Linked DNA regions of Homo sapiens: all the other regions are linked to region 1. Evidence: promoter capture Hi-C in 16 types of primary human blood cells and fetal thymus (Javierre and others, 2016). All regions are on one chromosome and are shown on one strand. The core of a region is centred on a gene start or on the middle of the fragment in contact, and the rest is flanking DNA. Distances in the headings are between cores, read along the strand shown.

Evidence for each region. Contacts are between HindIII fragments. The CHiCAGO score rates a contact against its expected background, and 5 or more counts as called.
Region 2: a contact is called between a fragment that was not itself captured here and the fragment with the promoter of CCDC126 in region 1, in 1 of 17 cell types (monocytes). The highest score is 5.2, in monocytes.
Region 3: a fragment that was not itself captured here is called in contact with the fragment with the promoter of CCDC126 in region 1 in 1 of 17 cell types (erythroblasts); the score reaches 5.4 in erythroblasts.

The regions. Positions count from the first base shown.
Region 1 is chr7:23,595,937-23,600,392 of GRCh38, reverse strand. CCDC126 (coiled-coil domain containing 126) reads right to left here and starts at 3,011. Exons shown (of 4, transcript NM_138771.4): 1 at 2,788-3,011; 2 at 2,342-2,426. It overlaps LOC105375187 (a long non-coding RNA gene), which reads left to right and starts at 3,068. Exons shown (of 2, transcript XR_927098.2): 1 at 3,068-3,276. RefSeq lists a silencer at 2,530-2,769. The HindIII fragment of the contact is 1,118 bases long and covers 2,206-3,323 here.
Region 2 is chr7:24,668,786-24,673,241 of GRCh38, reverse strand. All of the region lies in intron 9 of PALS2 (protein associated with LIN7 2, MAGUK p55 family member), which reads right to left. Among named protein-coding and RNA genes, the nearest start is that of GSDME, 86 kb to the left of the region's middle. The HindIII fragment of the contact is 3,027 bases long and covers 1,190-4,216 here.
Region 3 is chr7:24,620,362-24,624,817 of GRCh38, reverse strand. PALS2 (protein associated with LIN7 2, MAGUK p55 family member) reads right to left here. Exons shown (of 12, transcript NM_001303037.2): 2 at 1,034-1,152. The coding sequence starts at 1,150. Among named protein-coding and RNA genes, the nearest start is that of PALS2, 49 kb to the right of the region's middle. The HindIII fragment of the contact is 2,918 bases long and covers 496-3,413 here.

The DNA.
Region 1 (4,456 bases), core at 1,762-4,261:
GTGGTGGGGGGGGGGGGGTTAACACAGAACACAGCCATTCGCTCCATAATAAGGTCTAAGATTTAAAATGCACTGCCTTGAGAGAAGCTACACTAAAATTCCAGCTAAGATACGGAAATAATGAGTGTCAAGATATCAGATCATTTTTAGATGGCACATTTGGGAGACAGAATAGAAGACAATAGCACTGAATATTACAAAAACAGATAAAAGAAAAATGGTAAAGTGAGGCAGGGATAAAAACAGAAAATGTTAAGGCAAAAAGAAAACTAACCATTATGCTACAGTAAAAGTTTAATTTAAAATATGGCCTGGCGTGGTGGCTCATGCCTGTGATCCCAGCACCTTGGGAGGCTGAAGAGGGCGGATCACTTGAGGTCAGGCATTCAAGACCAGTCTGGTCAACATGGTGAAACCCCATCTCTACTAAAAATACAAAAATTAGCCAGGCATGGTGGTGCATGCCTGTAAACCCAGTTACTTGGATGGCTGAGGTACAAGAATCGCTTGAACCTGGGAGGTAGAGGATGCAGTGTGCAGAGATCGCACCACTGCACTCCAAGCTGAGTGAAAGAGCAAGGCTGTCTCAAACTAAACTAACTAAACTAAAATATGCAATAAAATAAACTATGCAGGCCGGGCTCCAGGGCTCACACCTATAATCCCACCATTTGGGAAGCTGACATAGGCAGATCACTTGAGGTCAGAAGTTCAAGACCAGCCTGACCAACATGGTGAGACCCTGTCTCTACTAAAACTACAAAAATTAGCCAGGCATGAGGTACAAGAATTGCTTGAACCCAAAAGGTAGAAGTTGCAGTGAGCCAGCACCACTGCACTACAGCCTGGGTGACAGAGTAAGACTCTGTCTCAAAAAAAAAAAACAACAAAACCTATATATATACATATACATAGACACACACTATGCAGCACTAGATACTTCAATCACAGAGCTTCACCTGTCACAGCCGTGGCCAATCATGTTTTGTGCCACATGTCCCCACCTCCCCTTCCAAAGCCAACTAGGCTAGCATCTCTGGCCTCAAACAAAGAGGCCCCAGGGAAAACCAGGCAGTTGGCAGAAGGAGCTGAAGGAGAAGTCATGAAAATAAATAATAAAGTTGGATGAGGGGATTGACAAGCTAAAGTTATGAAGAATCAGGCACAACAGGTATAGGGGCTATGAGCAAAAGATACAGAGTAGGGAGAAAGAGAACAAAGCATGTCAAAAATGCAGAGAAACTGTGCAGCTCATGAGAGAGTGATAACTGGCTGGTAGAGATTCTTATTTCTGGCAGCTTTCTTGTTCTCTTAAATGTATTCCTTCTTTCAAGGTAGTTTGAAAGAATTATATGACCTGAAGCAGGAAGAAACACTAAGAACACAAATGACTAAAAGGGTTTACACAAATTTTGTTTCCACATTTAAAAAAAAACCTCTAAAAACCTTTATCATTGAAAGTCTGAGCTAGAAGAGTCCTTGGAATCAGACCAATTCACTATTTTAGAGATGAGGACATTGAGGACCACAAAGTAATCTCAGGTTACACAGATAGTGACAGAGCAAGGACAAAACTAAGGACTCCTATTTCCGTAGCCATTACTCTCTGTCCTACACTGCACTAAATAACACCAACATAGAAACATTTTCCTCAAAACAAGTATTTTTGCAACACATTTTAGAGTGAGAAATTATTAATCAGTGAGAAGATGCAGACAGATGTAGAAAAAAGTTGACCCAGGTTAAATATGGTGAAGCCCAGAGGCAGGACTGTAAAATACCTGGATGCCTACTCTGACGAAACAAACACTTAGCGCCTCTAAGGATTCCCAAAGGACACACCTGAGGGGGAGGGGAGAGGTGAATACTTGTACCTCTGAAGCTGATCCACAGAAAAGCAGAGTCATCAATTTCCTAAGAACATTCTCAGCCATCTTAAAACAGCAAAAATTAGGAAGACGGCATATTTTAATGAATCCTTTGGTTAGGTTTAAGATAAAGTGAAGAACACACAACCCAGGATGATTAAACAAACAAAAGCACAAAACTCAAGTCCAGAGGCCACTTCGGTCACTTCAGTCATAGCTAATGAAAGTATCACAAAGGATCTTTTCATCAAATGAAGAACTAATGACGTTATAGGTCTATATTCCTAATTCTAACCACTTACAGGTGTGTGTTTTGATGGATGAGAAAACTCAAGCTTAGAGCCTTTAAGTAACCAAGATCACCAAGGCAGGCAGTGAGAGAAACCCAGGCAGGATTCGAACCCTAGCTGGCTGAGCCATTCTCATTACCGTCACAGTCAACAATCAACACGGCAGTTTAAGTTCATCCTTACCAGTCACCCAGGAGATGAGTTTTGAAGAGGGAGTTTAAAAGGGGCATCTGACTTTCTCTCTCTCCCAAAGTAGAAGAGAACTGAGCTGTCAAAAACAGAAAAAGAAGTGAGTGCGGTGCCGCCCGGGATCTACATCCCGCAGCTCCGGACCAAGCCCGCCCCGCTCGACTCGCGCAGCCCCAGCCACGCTCGGCTCTCCGCCCGAGCCGAGGCGCCGCGGCTGTCAGACGCGGAGGGGCAGAGACGCGGCCCAAAGGAAGGGACAAAGAGCCTTCCCGGCCGCGGCCGGAGGCTGCCGGCCCGTTCCTAAGCCGGGTTTCCGCAGCAGCGGCCCTAGCGGGGCGGGGACCGGGGACGGGGGCGCGGCGGGGGAGGAGCGGCCGGCTAGGCTGAGGGGCGCGCGAGAGGTGCGGGCCCGGCTGGCGGACTCGCCCCTTACTCATTACCTGGCCGTGGGCTTCTCGTCACGGTCGCCGCCGCCACGGAGCTTCTGAGCCGGGGCGACGCAGCGAGAGCTAATAAGCGGGCGTCAGCTGCGTCCCACACTGGCGAAGCAGCCTCCAGATCGAGCTGGAGAAACGCCGGTGGGTGGGAGTTGGGACGAGGTTTGTTCCCAGCTTGTGGAGATTTTACTCCGCTCGTCCCTCGCACTCGGCTTCCGCTCCGCCTCCCTGCCGGCCCTTCCCGCACTCGGGGGCCAGCCGCCCGCGGCGCGCGGCATTGTGGGGGATGTAGTCCCAGAATGAGGAAGCGGCGGCACGTGCTTCCAGCCGCCCTGCACCTACCCTGGGTCAGAACGACGCAGCTGCGCGGCAACCAGAGAGGGCGGCGGGGTCTTCTGTGTTGGAAGATGAGCCCGCCAGAGGCATACCCTCGGCCTTAACTCGCTGCAGGCGCTGGAAGAAGGGCTCTGGCGTCTTGTTCCCGACCCTCCGGTGAGGAACCAACCTCCTAATACTATTGACCTGAGGCTGGGAAAGCTTAGTGATGATTAAGTGTGCTACAGATGAGACTACCCATTATTGAAGCCAAAGGTCCTTAGCCAGTGGAGTGAGGCAAGAAAAATAAAAGGATTGAAGATTAAATAGGAAGAAACAAAATTATTTTTTCATAGATTATGTAATTATGTACGTGGAGGCCGGGCGCCGTTGGCTCATGCCTGTAATCCCAGCAGTTTGTGAGGCCAAGACGGGAGGATCACCTGAGGTCGGGAATTCGAGACCAGCCTGGCCAACATGGTGAAACCCCGTCTCTACTACAGATACGAACTTAGCAGGGCGAGGTGGCGGACGCCTGTAATTCCAGCCTCTCGGGGAGCTGAGGCGGGAGAATTGCTTGAACCCAGGAGGCGGAGGTTGCAGTGAGCTGATATCGCGCCACTGCACTCCAGCCTGGGCAACAAGAGCAGAACTCCGTCTCAAAAAAAAAAAAAAATTGTTTGTGGCACTTCAAAACAATCTGCAGATAAACTGTTAACAATAAAAGTTTTTAACAAGGTTAATAGATACAAAAATCATATTTTAAAAAATCAATATTTATTTATATATGCTAGTAAAAAAGATAATTTTTTTAAAGATACCATTTCCAACAGCTCCAAACAAATATCAAGTACCTAGGAATAAATCGATCAAAGAAATGCAAAACCTGCCTGAAGAAAACATTGGAAGACACTGAAGAAGACCTAAATAAAGATGTAACATGTTCATAAATTGGAAGAGTCAATACTGAAAAATGCCAAGTCTCTCCAAACCTACCTACAGAGCCAGTGCAATTCCCAACAAAATCTCAATAAATTTCTGTGTATGTGTGAGAAACTTGACAAGCTAATTCAAAATGTTATGGAAGAGCAAAGACAAGCATTCATGAGGAAGAGGAGGAAGAAAAAAAAAGAAGAGGAGAAGGAGTGGGAGGAGGAAAACTTGTGCTACCGGATAACAAGCTTTATTATAGACTAGGCACGGTGGCCCATGCCTATGATCTCAGCACTTCGGGAGGCTGAGGCAAGTGGATTGCTTGAGCCTGGAGTTCAAGACCAGCCTGGGCAACATGGCAAAACCCCATCTGTACCCCCCAAAAAAATACCAAAGTCAGCCAGTTGTGGTGGCATGCACCTAT
Region 2 (4,456 bases), core at 1,454-3,953, 1.1 Mb before region 1:
CAAAAAGACAAGGTTGGTTCAATATATAAAAATCAATGAATGCAATACATCCTATCAATAGAAGACAATAAAAAACAAAAATCATATGAACCATTAACAAAGAAAAAGCATTTGGCAAGATCTAGTACCCTTTCTTGGTAAAAAGCCAACAAAGCAGGAACAGAAGGGAACTTCTCCAATCTGATGAAAGGCATCTATGAAAAACCCACAGCTAAAATGGAAAGATTGAATGCTTTCTCCTTTCTCCTTAAGATCATGAACAAGACAAGGATGTTCACTTTTGCCACTTCTATTACACTATTACACATTACACTGCAGGTTCTAGTTGAGGAAAGTAGACAAGACAACGACATAAACAGCACCCAGATTGGAAAGAAACAAGTAAAACGATCTCTATTTGCAGATGACATGATTTTGTATATAGAAAATCCTGAGGAACCCACACAAAAAAATCATCATTAGAATCAATGAGGTCAATAAGGCTAAAAGACAAAGCCAACACACAAAAATCAGTTTATTTCTGTACACTAGCAAGGAACAATCCAAAAAGGAAATTAAGAAAATACTTTTTGCTACAGAATAAAAAAGAAAAAAATACTCAGGAATAAATGTGACAAAAGCAGCATAATATTTGTACAATGAAAACCATAAACAGCATTAAAATGAAAACCTAAATAAACAGAGAGACATCTATGCTCATAGACTGGAAGAATTAATACTGTTAATATAGCACCTGTAATCCCAGCACTTTGGGAGGCTAAGGCAGGCAGATCACCTGAGGTCAGGAGTTCGAAACCAGCCTGGCCAACATGGTGAAAGCAAGTCTCTACTAAAAATACAAAAAAAATTAGCCAGGCAGGATGGTGGGTGCCTGTAATCCCAGCTACTGGGGAGGCTGAGGCAGGAGAATGGCTTGAATCCAGGAGGTGGAGGCTGCAGTGAGCCGAGATCATGCCATTGCACTCCAGCCTGGGCAACAGAGCAAGACTCCATCTCAACAAAACAAAACAAAACAAAACAAAACAAAACAAAACAAAACAAAACAGATGGCAGTAGTCCTCAAGGCCAAGTTACTGGCATTTCTATATAAATTATAAGATAAGCTTCCAATTGCTGCAGAAAAGGTAGCTAGAATTCAATATAATCCCTCTTAAAATTCTAGCTACCTTTTCTGCAGAAACTGGAAGCTTATCTTATAATTTATATAGAAATGTCAGGAACCCAGAAGAGCCAAAACAAGCTGAAAAAGAAAGAACAAGTTGGGTTCACAATTCCTGGTTTTGAAACTTAATACAAATATACAGTAATCGAGACAATGTGGGACTGGCATAAGGACAGACATCTAGGTTAATGGAACAGAACTGAGGGTTTATAAATAAATCTTGACATTTACAATCAATTGATTTTCAAAAAGGGTGGCAAGACAATCCACTGGAGGAAAGAACTATTCTTTTTGACAAATTGTGTTGTGACAACTGGATAAGTGCAAGCAAAAGAATAAAGTTGGAACCCCCTCCTCACATTTGACACAAAAATGAACACAAAATTGATCATATAATCTGCATGTAAGAGTCAGTAGTATAAACTCTTAAAATAAAATACAGGAGTAAAATTTTGTGGCCTTGGGTTAGGGAAAGCCTTGATATGGTACCATACTTGATACGATATGAAAAGCATGAGCAACAAAAGACATATAAATTTGGACTTCATCAAAATGAAAAACTTTTGTATATCAAAGGACACCATCAAAAACACGAGAAGTCAACAAAGAATGAGAGAAAATATTAATACGTGCAAATCATATCTAACAAGGAACCTGTACCCAGAATATAATATGACCTCCTCTTACAGCTTAAGAAAAGGACAAATAACCTAACTGAAAAATGGGCAACCAGTTTGAACAGACATTCCTCCAAAGAAAATATATAAATGGCAAATATGTACATGAAAAGTTGTTTGACATGATCAGACATTAGGGAAATGCAAATGAGAACCAAAATGAGATACAACTTTACACCCACTAGGATGACTACAATCAAAAAGCCAGATGACAAATGTTGGTGAGGATGTAGAGAAACTGGAAACTTCATATGCTGCTGGGATTGTGAAGGGTATATACACAGCTGCTGTGGAAAACAGTGTGGAAGTTCTTCTAAAGGCTAAACATACAGTCATCATATAACCTACAAATTCCATTCCAAGGTATATACCCAAGAGAAACAGGCATATGTCCACACAAATACCTGTATACAAATGCTGAGTGTAGCATTATTCACAATAGCTAAAAATAAAACAGTCCAAATGTCCATCAACTGATGAATATATAAATAAAATGTGGTATAGCCATATAATAATCACTTAGCAAGGAAAAGAAAATAAGTACTGATAAATGCTACAATGCAGATGAGATCTGACATGTTAAGAAGCCAGTCACAAAACACCACATATTGTATAACTCCAGTATATAAAATGTCCAAAATAAGCAAATCTATTTTGACAGAAAGATTCATGATTGCTCCTGGCAGCAGGGGGTGAGGAAGTTGGTGGGAAATGGGTACAGAGATTCTTTTGGCGATGATGAAGACGTTGTAACAGCTTTTGAATTTTACAATCCAGAATTCTATTCTCTGCTAATTAGTCAAATAAAGGGCAGAAAATATACATTTTAAAACACAAAGATGCAGACATTACATTCCACATACAAGAGGATGTACCCCAGCAAAACAAGGTGATAAACCAAGAAAGAGAAAGAATGGGATCCAGGAACAACAGCTTCAACCCAGGATAACAACAAAGGGAACTACTCCAGTGTTAACAGCTGGGCAGCCAGAGAGACAGCATGTAGTCCTCATTGAAGCAGAAAGACAGAGGGTTCTGAGACAGAGGTCTCCAGGAAAAAAAAAAAGAACCTGACTTACTGGATAAACAAGTCTTTAGTTTAAAAAACAACAAAAAACTGTATACACATATATATATAAAATCAGGTAGTATAAAGAAAAACAGAACTCCAGAGATTCCTGGGTCACAGAAGGGGAAAGGGCTGTTCAAGAAAGTGAAATTGAACTAACTGAAAATACAGCTATCTTTATATTGGAAGGACAGTCAGGAAGTCAACAGATAAGGCCTAAACTGCATAAAGCAGGAAACAGCAGACTAAAGACATTATTAAGAAATATGGAACACAACCAAAAGAAATAGCAAAAACAATGAAAAGTGACTGTTTTTCATAAGTGAGGCAGGGGAAGAGAAGGGGTTATTTTTTTCCCCATTATATGTCTTTAAGAACTACTTGCTAAAAATATTGGGCACATATGAATTTGATAAAAGCGAAAAACTTTTTACTTCACAAGTGCAGCTTTAACATACGTTGATTACAGTGAAGTTTTTGTTCTGTTAACCACTTTAGTAGGATTTGTCTAAATTTAGTGATTTACAATGCCTGCAGTAGAATCAGAAGATTTACACTGAAGGGATTATAAGTAGCACAGGGGGGCAATGACAAGGCTATTTCCCTAACTTTTAAGAATTTTAGCAATAAGAGTACTCACTGAGAATTAAACCCAAAATATACTGGACAAAACCAGGGAAACTCTAAAATTCAATTAAAAGAGATAGGGTTAAAGTTAGCCTAGGATTTGACTCAAAATAGCTTAAAGGCATTAATATACCTAAAGGAATGCCATGTTAAAAGGGGGCTTGGTCAGAAATAGAAGCACAGCAATGGGAATGAAAGCAATGTTAGCTTATCTCCTGCTTTCTTCAAGGGAGAGAACATCTAAGTTCACAAGTAAAGATCCACGTATTTCAAAAACAAAGACAAATGTTTATTAGTCCCTACAGTCAGAGACAAATGTGTATTAGTCATTACAGTAAATCACTAACATCATCCAATTCCTTGATCTAATTCCATTCTCATCAAGCATACTTCTGACATGATTATTTAACTTTCTATGTAAATATGCAAATAGAGAAATGAATGCAAAGACCATAAAATGAGTGCTTGGTTCACTTAATGGTTATACTTCTCATCAGTACTATTTTATTCTATACATCAGACTCTGTAACCTTAATGAATGCTGCCTGCAGTAAAAGATGAATCACTCTTATGTGCTATCAAAAATCAGGTTTATGACCTTGCATGACTGAGAGCTACAAGCCAGGCCACGTAAGTTCACACAGCTGTTGCCACACTGGGTATGTCCAAGGGTCAGAAGCTTTCCCCTTTTCTTTACACTAAAATGGCTGAAAAATCCAACTTTTTAGATAGACATCAGTACAAGAAAATCCTAAATGCCTATCTTGCCACGAGTCTTAAATGTAGGCATTTAATTCTAACATTTCTGAACTGAATAGTTTAGAGAAGCACTTGCCACCAGACAGCAAGCCAACAGCACTGCAGCACTATTTCAAGACAGCTACAGAATTACTAAATTTTTCAATGTCTTTTACTTGTTCA
Region 3 (4,456 bases), core at 705-3,204, 1.0 Mb before region 1:
TGCGCCAACATGGTGAAACCCCTCCTCTACTAAAAATACAAAAATTAGCCAGGGGTGGTGGCACACGCCTGTAGTCCCAGCTACTCGGGAGGCTGAGGCAGGAGAATCACTTGAACCCAGCAGGCAGAGGTTGCAGTGAGCTGAGATCGTGCCAGTGCACTCCAGCCTGGGAGACAAAGTGAGACTTCCTCTCAAAAAAAAAAAAAAAAAAAGAAGAATCTGCATCATTAATTCACTCTCACTAATAGAAAACCTTGTAAAAGGTATTTTTCAGAGGTCTTGGAAGAAAACAAGTAACAGACTTTGGCTAAGAAAAAAATCACAGAAGAGAGTGAAATCAACATTCTCATAGAGCAAAAACCAAAAGGAACAAGATGGCTCTATGAAGAAAAGATCAAAGAAGGCATGTGGCATAGATTCTTGAAAGCAAGAGTCATTTGGGGGAACTCTAAAGAATGGTATAGCAGGTTTGTAAAATAGGTAATACATTAAGCTTTAGCATATAATAATTATTTAATAAAAATGGTTGTAAAGTATACTTATCAATGAGTTAAAGAGATTACTCCAGAGTTGACTAGGGAAACAGACTTAAAATACCAGGCTTATGCAACAAATAACAAAATTTCAAAAAAGCACTAGATAAAGGAAGTCAAGAACTTACATGAAAAGTAGGTACACAGTCTAATGCAAAAGAAGAAAATCAGTACTTTGCCATTGTTGAAAATGGAAATAGGATCAGGATCTTTTTCACAGGCCCTGTTAAAACACAACTGTGCAGGTATGATTTCTCTAAACCTTAAAGGCATTACGCCAAAACTAAGAGTCATTTCATCCTGTATTTAAAGTCAGAGTAGAAAAGAGAAAAATGGTCTAATTTTTGCATATGTTAAGATTTCATTATGTGCTGAATGTTTTTATTTGCTAACTAAACCTAATGTATATCAACCAAATTCTAAAATAGTAATATCTGAAAATATCTCTATAAAAACTAAGTCCAAAATAATTCAGTAATCTTATGAATAAATCTATATACCTTAGCAAGTGATTTTACAATAGGATTCTCCATAATTCCCTTGAGGAAAATTAGGTCTATTTCTTCTGCTCCAGTAGACGAGGGCAGCTCCGTAAGGTTTTCCAAGACTTGCTGCATTGCTGCTGAGATAAAAGCAACATAAAAACAAACAAACAAACAAACAAACAAAAACCCTTAAATTTCAAGCCGTTATGGAGTAAGATTATTTTAATAATGCAACTAGACATTAAGAATACTCTTTGGAAAAATAACATTTTAAAAAATGAAATTGTTAAACAGTATGAGTTTCAAATTGACTTCCCAGGAATTAATAGCAGGATAGATTTTTATATGTAATTTGGACTTTATCAGACTACCTTACACATACTTACAACCTTGCACTTGCTCTGTATTTTTCAAATTTAAAAACATTACTCAAGAAAAAACAGAAAATTCAAACAGACTTATAAGAAGGAAAAAGTCTAATTTAGGAATCAGAAACTTCCCACAAGCTCAGAACCAGCCTTCACTGCTGAATTCTATCAAACAGTTAAAAAAGAATTAAAACCAATACTTCACAAACTCCTTCAAAAAAAAAAAAAAAACGGAAGAGAAGGAAACACCTTCCAACTCATTCTATGAGACCAATTACCCTGATACTAAACCCAACAACATCACACACAAAAAAATTACCACCAATCTCTCCTAGAAATACAAATGCAAAAATCTTAAACAAAATACTGAATCCAGTGACATATACAAACAATTGTACATAATGGCCAAGTTCACTTTATCCCAGGAATGAACGAGTGGTTCAACAGATAAAAACTCAACAGACTCTATTAATAAAACCAAGAACAAAACCAAATGACACTTCAGACAAAGAAAATCATTAGACAAAACCCAAAACTCTTTCATAATAAAAACATTCACCAAACTAAAAATAGAAGGGAAATTCTTCTCTCTGATAAAAGGCTTCTATGAAAAACCCACAGCTAATATCATACTTAATGGTGCTTTTACTCCTAATAAGGAAAAAAATAAGGCTGTACACTTTTGGCATTTTTATTCAACTTTGGATTAGAGGTTCTAGACAGGGCTGTTAAGCAAAAAAAAAAAAAAGAAAAAAGAAAATAAAGAAAAGGCATCCAGACTAGAAAGCAATAAGTAAAACAATTTATATTTGCAGATCATATGATTCTGTATATGGAAAATCCTAATATACAAAAATTTATTATCATTAATATGTGAGTTCACCAAGGTTTCAGTATACAAGATTAATACAAAACAACCAATATGTTGTTACACATAGTGTATTTCTATACACTGGTGACAAACAATCCAAAAATGAAATTAAGAAAACCATTCCTTTTACAGTAGCATCAAAGACAATAAAATACTGAGAAATAGATGTAACAGAAGTAGTACAAAATTTGTACAATGAAACTATAAAACATCATTGAAAGAATGAAAGAAGATCTAAATAAAGGGAATGACATCCCATGTTCATGGATCAGAGGACTTATTATTAAAATGGCAACAATTCCCAAATTAACCTACAGGTTTAATACACTCCCTATCAAAATCTGAACTGCCTTTTCTTTTTTTGTAGAAATTGACAAGCTCATTCCATTCATATGGAAACTCAAAAAAACCAGAATAGCCAAAAGAGTCTTCAAAAAGAACAACAAAGTTGGAGACCTCACACTTCTCAATTTCAAAACTTACTAAAAAGCTACAGTAATCAAGACTGTGTGGAACTAGCATATATACATACATACAACTAAACAACAGGCTAGAAACAAATCCATACATTTATGGTCAATTGATTCTGACAATGTGCCAAGACAATTCAATAAAGAAAAAAATAGTTTTTTCAACAGCTGGTGCTGGGACAACATATGTACATGTTAGAGAGTGACGCTAGACCCCTCCCCTCACTCAATATTATAATCTTAATTTTATTAGTTTTATCTCTTAGCTCATAGAATAAATCAACAGTAAATACAGAAGTCGTTTTTAATATTAACTTTTATTTTTATTAAAGTAAAATATAAACACTGTTAAAAGTCAGATTGTAGTACTAAATGGCTTATAAAATACAGTTTTCTGTTCCATGCTGCTTACCCTTCTCCCAACTTATCCTACTCCCAGAAGTAATTACTAGGAATTTAATTGTTTCTTCTAATCAGATCTGTTCGTAGTTTCTCTTCTTTCTGGATAATATGCTAATATTGCTACTTTGTGACTGACCCATTTTGGACATTATCTATTTTCTGTTAGAATACTAGAGGTTTCAGCTTTTACTTTCCCTATCTTCAGACTCTCAATTTTTAAAAACAAAATCAATAGTGTTTTTCATATGGAACTCTTAAGTTTTTTCCAAATGTTCCAACAAGCTTCTCACATTTTTACCAGTATTTTTCTAAATATTCAAATATTTTTCTAATACTCTATCAGACCTATTTCCTGTCTTCTATCCCTGATCTCCCTCACAAAGCATTCTCTTGTATGTTAACTTGGACAGGTTCATCCATGGGGGTTTCATGGATGACTGACAATTTTTGAAGGTAAAGAAGCGAACAAGAGGACAATGTGCACTTGACAAAGGAGAAGGAAAACAAGTATTGGATTAACATGAAGAAAGATGACATAAGAAGTAAAGAATATAAACTAAGCTACTTAGTAATTTTGCTTAAGGTCAACAAGTTACCTTTAAGTGGGCAGGGAACAATAGAATCAATTTTTAAAAGTACTTTTGTCCTGTGGCTATAAATGTGGTTAGCAGTACTTCCCATTATTTATTTTTCTTTCTTTTGACATTGTACATTTGTTTTTATTTTTAGCTTTTATTATGGAAAACTTCAAACATATGTGAAGAAAACAGAATAATATAATAAACCACACAATGATCAGCTCCAACAATTAGCAACTCATGGCCAATCTTGTTTCACACTCCTATATACTTTCTACCTTATATAACTTTGAAGCAAATTCCAGAAATCCTATTTCAATGTATATGTCTCAAAGATCAGCACTCCTTTTAAACAACATAACCAAAATACTGTTAGCAATAGTAACAAATTAGCAATACCTAGCAAATTAACAGTAATTCCTTAATGTTATCAAATGTTTAGTCAGTGTTCATAACGCCAGTTGTACTGAAGATTTTTAAAAAATGTACCTTCTGTATTGATTCTTGAAGTGCTTGTTTTTTTTTCAAATTGGTGTTTAAGTCAGTAGAAAAGTGAAAGAAATTGTGAAATAGATCTTTGGTTATTTTAAAGATCTTCATAAGTTGTTACTGACTCTTAATCATATGGAATTTAATCTAGAAATGGATAAACTTGACAACATCCCTTGTCCTGGCAAAGAAATCTCAAATATTATAATGCTGTCAATCATTCTCAAATTAGTTTGTATATTTGGTGGATTTATAGTCAA